Linked DNA regions of Homo sapiens: region 2 is linked to region 1. The links are contacts of gene promoters, found by promoter capture Hi-C in human tissues and cell types (Jung and others, 2019). All regions are on one chromosome and are shown on one strand. The core of a region is centred on a gene start or on the middle of the fragment in contact, and the rest is flanking DNA. Distances in the headings are between cores, read along the strand shown.

What was found. Contacts are between HindIII fragments. The study calls those that stand out against the background at their distance.
Region 2: a contact is called between a fragment that was not itself captured here and the fragment with the promoter of SENP5 in region 1, in 1 of the 25 tissues and cell types used here (spleen).

The regions. Positions count from the first base shown.
Region 1 is chr3:196,864,986-196,869,178 of GRCh38, forward strand. SENP5 (SUMO specific peptidase 5) reads left to right here and starts at 2,935. Exons shown (of 10, transcript NM_152699.5): 1 at 2,935-3,088. RefSeq lists a silencer at 2,712-3,291 and an enhancer at 3,943-4,193. The HindIII fragment of the contact is 4,194 bases long and covers 1,430-4,193 here.
Region 2 is chr3:197,224,566-197,229,282 of GRCh38, forward strand. All of the region lies in intron 4 of DLG1 (discs large MAGUK scaffold protein 1), which reads right to left. Among named protein-coding and RNA genes, the nearest start is that of MIR4797, 67 kb to the right of the region's middle. The HindIII fragment of the contact is 3,890 bases long and covers 1,056-4,717 here.

The DNA.
Region 1 (4,193 bases), core at 1,685-4,184:
CGTGATCCACTGTGCCCGGCCTGGAGATTTCTTAAATAACTTAAAACAGAACTACCATTTGATCCAGCAATCCCATTACTGGGTATACATCCAAAAGAAAATAAATTATCCTACCAAAAAAACACATGCATTTGTATGTTCATTGCAGCACTGTTCACAATAGCAATGACATGGAGTCAACCTCGGTGCCCATCGATGGTGGACTGGATAAAGAAAATGTACAAACACGCTATGGAATACTTCACAGCCATAAAAAGTATGAAGTCATGTCTTTTGCTGAAATATGAATGTAGCTTGAGGCTGTTATCCTAAGTGAAATAATGCAGGAACAAAAATCCAAATGCTACATGCTCTCAGTTATAAGTAGAAGCTAAATAATGAGTATTCGTGGATATAAGGATGGTAACAACAGGCCAGATGCAGTGGCTCACGCCTGTAATCCCAGCACTTTGGAAGGCTGAGATGGGTGGATCACGAGGTCAGGGGTTTGAGACCAGCCTGGCCAACATGGTGAAACTCTATCTCTTCTAAAAATACAAAAATTAGCTGGGTGTGGTGGCGGTCACCTGTAATACCAGCTACTTGGGAGGCTGAGGCAGAATCACTTGAACCTGGGAGGCAGAGGTTGCAGTGAGCCGAGATTGCGCCATTGTACTCCAGCCTGGGCAACAAGGGCGAAGCTTGGCCTCAAAAAAAAAAAACAAACAACAACAACAAAAAAAAACAAAACCTGAAAATCTAATATTTAAAATTAAGAACTCAATGTATAGATTTAACAGCAGATTGGAGATTATAGAAGATAGACTCAATAACCTGAAAAACAGAAAACCTTCAAACTGAATAATTGAAAAAAAAATTGACATCACAAAGTGTAAAAGACACGGTGAACAAGATCAAATAATCTTACATATGGGCTGGGTGCCGTGGCTCATGCCTGTAATCCCAGCACTTTGGGAGGCTGAGGCAGGTGGATCACCGGAGGTCAGGAGTTGAAGACCGGCCTGACCAACATGGTGAAACCCTATCTCTACTAAAAATACAAAAATTAGCCGGGCGTGGTGGTGGGCGCTTGTAATTCTGGCTACTCGATAATAATACTATTATAATAGTATTATCTACCTCAGTAGATAATACTGCTGAGGCAGGATTATCGCTTGAACCCGGGAGGCAGAGGCAGAGGTTGCAGTGAGACGAGATTGCGCCACTGCACTCCAGCTTGAGCAAAAAGAGTGAAACTCTGTCTCAATAATAATAATAATAATCTTACATATGTAATTGGTGTCTCGGAGAACAGGCATAGAGAATGCAGCAAAAACCATATCTGAAGAGATAATGATTGAGAATTTCTCAAAACTGATGCAAGACATCTACCCACAAATCAGAGAAACTCAATGATATCCAAGACAGATAAATACAAAGAAAACAAAGATAGGGCACAAAATAAATGGCTAAAAATCACTAACAGGCTGGGTGCGGTGGCTCACGCCTGTAATCCCAGCACTTTGGGGGGCTGAGGCGGGCAGATCACGAGGTCAGGAGATCGAGATTATCCTGGCTAACTTGGTGAAACCCGGTCTCTACTAAAGAAATACAAAAAAAATTAGCCAAGCGTGGTGGTGGACGCCTGTAGTCCCAGCTACTCAGGAGGCTGAGGCAGGAGAATGGCGTGAACCCGGGAGGCAGAGCTTGCAGTGAGCCGAGATGGCGCCACTGCACTGCAGCCTGGGCGACAGAGCGACACTCCTCTAAAAAAAAAAAAAAAATCACTGACAAAGAGAAACTGTTAAAAAGAAGTGAGAGGGCCTGGTGTGGTGGTTCACGCCTGTAATTCGAGCACTGTGGGAGGCCCAGGTGGGAGGATCACTTGAGCTCAGGGGTTCAAGACCAGCCTGGGCAACATAGGGAGATGTCATCGCTACAAAAATAATGATAGTAATAGTAATAAAAAATTAGCCGGGCGTGGTGCAGGAGCCTGTGGTCGCAGGTACCCTGGAAGATGAGGTGGGAGGATCGCTTGAGCCCAGGAGGCAGAGGTTACAGCGAGCCTAGGGTGTGCCACGGCACTCCGGCTTGGGCGAGACAGCAAGACCCTGTTTGGAAAAAAAAAAAAAAGAAAAGAAAAAAGAAAAAAAAATCAACAGTAATTGCAGCCATTGCTTAGAACTAAGACTAAACAAAGCTTTTGTTTGGAAAGGAGTACTTTTTCATTAACATTGTTTAGAATTTTCTGACACATGATGATAATTAAAAGCAAACCATCCTGCAGTTGGCTTCGGTATTGTTTTTATCTTCTCCACCATCAATGCATATCCTTACTGCCTACACAGGCTCTCAGCAACGCACTGTTGGTTTTCCATTGCAGTCACCTCCACTTTATTCTTCCAGATCGAGTATGTTCAAAACTGAACTCATCTTCCGCCATAAATCTGCTATTATTATGTTTTTGCCTGTCAGGACATCGGCTTATAATTTTGGAAAGCATTCACAGTTGGGGCGGGTAAGACATAGATAAAGAGGCCAATCACAATACCAGGGGTAAGATCAATAGGAAAACCAGAGAGCGGACGCCTGGGCCAGGCCTCACAACGTCCAGAGCTGGAATGGGTCTTTTGCTTTCGGCGCAGGGGTGACGGGATCAGCGGAGGGTAGGGGTGTACACTAGCTGCGGTCTGATTTAGCCCTTTTAGGTTAAAAGCTGGAGAAGGGGCTGAAGTCTCAAACGCGCTTAGCAGCTCCTGAACGCGGTTCCCATCCCAGCGCGTTCTGAGGGAGGCCGGGGCTAAGGACGCGGTGACGGGCGGGGGCGGGGCGGCCCCGGGTCGGGAGGCGGGGCGGGAGCGCCGGAAGCGGGCGGTGCCAGGCCCAGCCTCGCAGGCGGAAGGGCGCGGAGGAGGTGACGCGATAGGCCAGCGCCGGCGTCGCGGCAGCCGCTTCAGAGGAAGCTCGGCGGCTGTGGCCGCGGCGAACAGGCCGGACGCCTCGTCGCTGGCGGGGCTTCCCTTGGAGCTGACGAAGGCGGGGTCCGCGGTCCAGGCTGCTGCCGCGACGGGGCCGGCGGCGGGGCAGCTGCCAGGAACGAGGGTAGCAGGTAAGCGGGGACGCGGGCAGACGAGTGACGGACTCAGCGATCGCCTGGCGGGGCTGGCTGGGGCCATTCCCGCGCCGGTGCGCCACCTCAGCGCCCGGTCCGGAGGCCTCGAGCCGCCCTCCCCCGCCCGAGCTGGAGGCCGCCGTCCGTCTCGGCCACAGCCTCCCTTTCCGGGGGAGGCGAGCGAGCTCGTCCCGAGGGGCCGCTGCCCTGCGCTCTCGCTCCAGCCGGGCTGTGCGTCGCAGGCACCGGGAAGCTGGCGCCCCCCAGCTCCTCCTGAAGCCGGGAAAGCTCTGAGAGGAGGAGCCGCTGTCACAGGCCTCCAGCTCCGGCCGCCGTGGAAGTCCGGGGTTTTTATTTGCTTAGACCGCTCTGCCTCCTTCCGGCCTTCGTTTCTTTCCTCGCGCTCCCCGGGACCCTTTTCCAGAGAGCCCGGTTGGGCATGAGCGCGGTGGGAGACGTCTTTTCCCTTCGGTCTGCTCTGAGCGGTATCAGCCTCCGCTCTACGCCCTGTGGCCACTCTGTCGGGGTGGAGGGATGCGGAGAGGATGTGGGAGTTTTGGACTTAGAGCGAGAATAGCCGAGGTGAAATCCTACCCTGCTCTCTGGTAGTGTTTTTCATCTCATGCTAGATAGACATTTCGACCTTTTTCACCGCAGGTAAAGTGGGACTTTCTTCTACCAATGTAAATTATAATGTTTGGAGAATTAAATGAAGAAAGCAGACGTTAGTTATGAAATGTTTTGAGAATCTGGTTAAATTTAATTTAAGAATATCCAGGACACTTCATGATAGGTTCCTACTTATGTTTTTTTTTTGCATTTTGCCCGGAATAACTAAGCTTGGTATGGAAAAGGTTGCCTAGAGATGCCAGGCGCTCGTGTGGTCAGAGCCTAACTGCAGTCTCTGTTTTGGGTGGGCAGCATCAGGAAGAAACCAGACTCTCTCCTAGCCATCCACATGTCTCACGCTTATTGATGGCATATTATTGGTATATGAGGGATGGCTTATATCAGTTTTGATCTTTACTCAAGATAGCTTTTTCCCAGTGCATCTTTTCTAGGAGAAAAGCTTGGTATGTAGAGGAGGGTGCTGGGGAGGGGG
Region 2 (4,717 bases), core at 1,751-4,250, 360 kb after region 1:
ACCAATACGAATGTTAAATTTGTTAAAAATCTGTTTCTATCAGCAGCATACTTTTTCTTGTGCAATCATTTCCATTTCCTATTTCAGAAAATTTCTGAAATCTCAGTAGGAAAATAAGAATTCTCTGACAAAACAAAGAACTTAATGTAAAGAGGGAAAAATGCTTGGGTGACCAGAAAAGCAATATATTCTTTAACAACCTTTCAGCCTAATTTAATCAGCTAGCAATTTGAGACCTCTTCACATCAGCAATTGAAAAGTTTCAGTCATACAAAAACTAAAAAGAAAAAAAAGTTCGATTCAAAACAATACCTCAAAATAAGTAATTATTCCCCCAAATACTACGTTAGAGGGCTCTCTTCCTACAAATAGCTTTAAACCACATGTTGTTTTTATTGTTGCTGTTGTTGAGATGGAGTCTCGCTCTGTGGCCCAGGCCGGAGTGCAGTGGCGCGATCTTGGCTCACTGCAAGCTCCGCCTCCTGGGTTCACGCCATTCTCCTGCCTCAGCCCCCCAAGTAGCTGGGACTACAGGCACCCGCCACCGCACCCAGCTAATTTTTTTGTACTTTTTAGTAGAGACGGGGTTTCACCGTGTTAACCAGGACGGTCTCGATCTCCTGACCTCATGATCTACCTGCCTCAGCATATGTTGTTTTTGATTGCAGAAATCAGGTAAAAATGCACCCGCTCTTTGTTCCATCTAATATTTTATATAAGAATAACCATCTTTAAGGCAAACTACATTCATTTTATTTATATAGAACACATTACTAAATTAACCAGTTTCATTTATAGGAAATGAGTAGTAAAGTCATGGTTCTTTTGGTGTTTATTTTGTTCAAAAGCTTTCTTTCCTCTATACAATCTAAATAGCAACACAATTTAGTATCAAAATCAAAGTCTATGGCATTAGTTTAAATATTAAAACTGCCACAAGCAGTTTCTTCCATCAAAGTGATGTCAGAAACCATCTCCAGTCCTGCGTATCAATGGTGTTTCCTGTACACTTAATTCTCCACAGTAGCAACACATAAAAACCAAGTCAATAATTAATCCTCATTAATGGAAAATGACATTTTACATGCAGCTTTCATAAAAATCAGATCCTTTTCTACTATATCTTAACTGTGCACAGACCAATTCTTTACTCATGTCAGACACACAAAGGACAGGAATCTATTACATGAATTAAAGTCAATCAAACCATCTAACCTAAATTACATTTCTTTGCTGAAATACTATTGGATTTTAAAACCAAGCTTTTTAAGGAAGTATTATTCAAACCCACCTTACATCCAAACATTAAGGATATTGTGCTGTTGGAGCATGCTACTTTACAGTGGCATAACATCGGAGAAAAGCAATCCAAGTTTTTGATGCTAGGAGACATTTTTTCAGACCCTGAGCATTTAAATCGATCCAAGACTGAAATTCCAGAAAAATGCCTTTGTGCATGTTGTTTGCTGACTGTCTTGAACATTTAATCTAGATCCAAAGCATTCTTTTTAAAAAAAATTGTATTAAAATGTTGCATTCTTCATTGTTTCCACCCCCACAGCAGAGATCAGGTCGGTATACTATGATTGGAATTAAAATGCTGTTTCTTTTTCCTGCATAATAAAACTGCTTCACTAAAATTATAGTCAAATTACCAGAATGAAAGTGCTCATTTAGCACCACTTTGTCAGGGCCTTGCTAATATCCTTAAAATGTAATCCAGCATCGGATTCACCACAGAGCTCCACTTGCTGCAGTACAAGCTCTGCTATCTCCTCCATGAGAATAAGATACAACTCGAGCAGAGCCACTATGCTCAAATATATGCTGGCTGCTTTGGGGGAGGGGCAAAGATGTTGCAGCAAGGGATTCATTACACGGTTCAATAAGAGATGAGCCCAGAGCTTGTCATATGTGATGCTTTCTTACTACACCACTAAACACTGTAGTCTGATTTAAAATATAGTTTTAATGGTAAAAAGAGTACCTCAATTATCACATTTTGTAGTTTGATTCCTCTCTATAAACAATTCAAGCAACAACAACAAAAATCAATCATCTGGCAAAGTTAAGTAGAATAATTACAAATTAAACTTGGACAGTAAAAAAAGTTCAGTATTTTCTAATACATCAAAATCACTTAAAATCTGGAAAAACATTACTGAACCAATTTTGATGTATATCTATACCATATGGAAAGTTTAAAAGCAGAAAGTCAAGCAGTTTAACTCACCGACATATCACTGATTTATCCACTCTTTCAAATATTATTTTCTGTGCTTTGGCTTTTTAATCAACCCTTTGGCAGAAAAGCTATCATTAACTAATTACATTCAAAGCAACAAATAAAATACTGTGAAAATGTCATTCTTACAGTATTTTATATTTAAAATCTTGCACACAGATGTTACATCTTATGCAGTACCTTCGCTATAATTTAAATGGACAGTATTTATTGAAACTCAAAAGCTGAATTAACAAATGCCAGTAAAATACTAAATAACACACAAAGGAATATTTACTGCTTCATCTATGTAATTATCTTTTCTTTCTTCCACTATTATTTGGGTTGTTCTAAGTACTACATCTATATTGCAGTTAAGAAATATAATTGCTAATGAAGACTGTCAACTTTTACAAAACTGCCTGTAATCCCAGCACTTCAGGTGGCCGAGGTGGGTGGATCATCTGAGGGTCAGGAGTTCGAGACCAGCCTGGCCAACATGGTGAAACCCTGTCTCTAGTAAAAACACAAAAAAATTAGCCAGGCGTGGTGGTACGCACCTGTAGTCCCAGCTACTTGGGGGACTGGGGCAGGAGAATAGCTTGAAACTGGGAGATGGAAGTTGCAGTGAACCGAGATTGCGCCACTGCACTCCAGCCTGGGCGACAGAGTGAGACTCCATCTCAAAAAAAAACCAAAAAAACAAAAAACAAAAACAAGAACAATTTTACAAAACTAAAATTATCAATTCATATATTTGTACTCAACAGCCTGGTCTCTGTATGCTTAGTAAGCAAAGCTGTTTGTGGAAAAGTATACTATATTTTGCTATACACCAGAAACAGCGTGCCAAAAGACAAAAATTCCCTTACCACCAACCATAACTCTAATTCCAAACCTGCTCAAGAACACTTTTAATTCCAATTTCCTACACAATTCTCTATTCTGTTCCATTCCTACTTATGTAATTGTATAAGGGGTGAGAGAGAGAAAAAACTAGGTTACATTTCTAAAACAGTAAAGGAAATAGCTGGTTCTCCAATCTAATTACCCTGACAGGTAAATAACTGCAAATCACATGACTTGTGGAACTTAAATGAAAAGTCAAATGTCAACTGTAACTAGGGCAAGAAAAAGTAAACTGTGCTCCTTAGAAGCCTTTATATTTAAAAATACATTTACTAAGTCAGAGCCATAGTTGTTAAGCTGTGGTTCTCAGCCTTTTTCACTGCAGTGCCTCAGAGGTGTCACCAATGTTCTTTCATTTTAAAACTTTCATTTTCAAATTTACAAATTTTAATTTTAAAAACCTGGAAGCACAAATGTGTAACAAGTTTTAATACTGGTGTTTATCTATAACAATTTATTTATCCATACTACCAAGTAAACTCATTTTGTGTCAATCTCAAAATACAACTTCTCCAATTTTTGTGCACATGGAGGATTTGTCTCATTGATCATGTAGGTTGTACACGCTGAGTCTTAATAAAATTCAGTTCTGTGCAGACATGTCTGCTCCCCTAAAACTATATAAGCAAGCACATTATTTGGCACATGTCTAATAGAACAAAATGTCAGGCAAAGTTCAAGCATGTCCACTTAGCCTGTGCTCTTAATACAGTCTGCCTTATTCAGTTGGTTACACAATAAACATGTAATATATTCAACTATGATAATATTGTGCTATGATCATTTTAATGATTACTAGGAATTAACCAGTGTTTCTTGTCTGTTTTTTTAGTAAACTGAATGAATGAGTTCAACGTATACATTTTGGGTCAAAATTTACCATACCTAAAACTGCAGAAGACAGTATAAAAAACATGCATTTGATTTTGGGACCTACCAGGAAAAATGACTAATTTTGACTATTTTGAAACTCTGAGTGGATCTGATAGATTTGCACTAAAGTGTCTTAGGCTGTTCTGCTTTTTAATGATGTTATCTAACAAATCAATATCCCAGATACATTCAGCCAAATAGTACCTATCAAACTACCTAAGAAACAATATTTAAGTAATAATAATAAATAATTATTAACAGTAGCAATTGTCATTTAATAATTACTACTAGTCAGGCATTCTGCAAAGTGCTTTCATGTGTCAGAAAAATTATCAAAAGCTTGGAAAAAGAGGCAAAAAAATTGGTAGTACGTTCAATGCTGTATAGAGACAAAGGTTGTTCAAGATTATCCAGGGCAATGGTTTTCAACATGGAACAACTTTGCGCCCCCAGGGACACCTGGCAATGTCTGCTGCCCAATCGAGGAAAAGAGTCTACGGGCATCTAGTGGGTAGAAGCCAGGGATGCTACTAAACATTTTATAACAACACACTGGACAGCTTTCCACAACAAAGAATGATCTAGCCCAAAAATCAAGGATGCCTAAATTGAGAAATTCTAATTTAGGGGAATGCACACTTTAACACACTATTTACTAGAAGTCCCATCCCAGCACTTTAGGAGGTCAAAGTGGGAGGATTACTTGAGGCC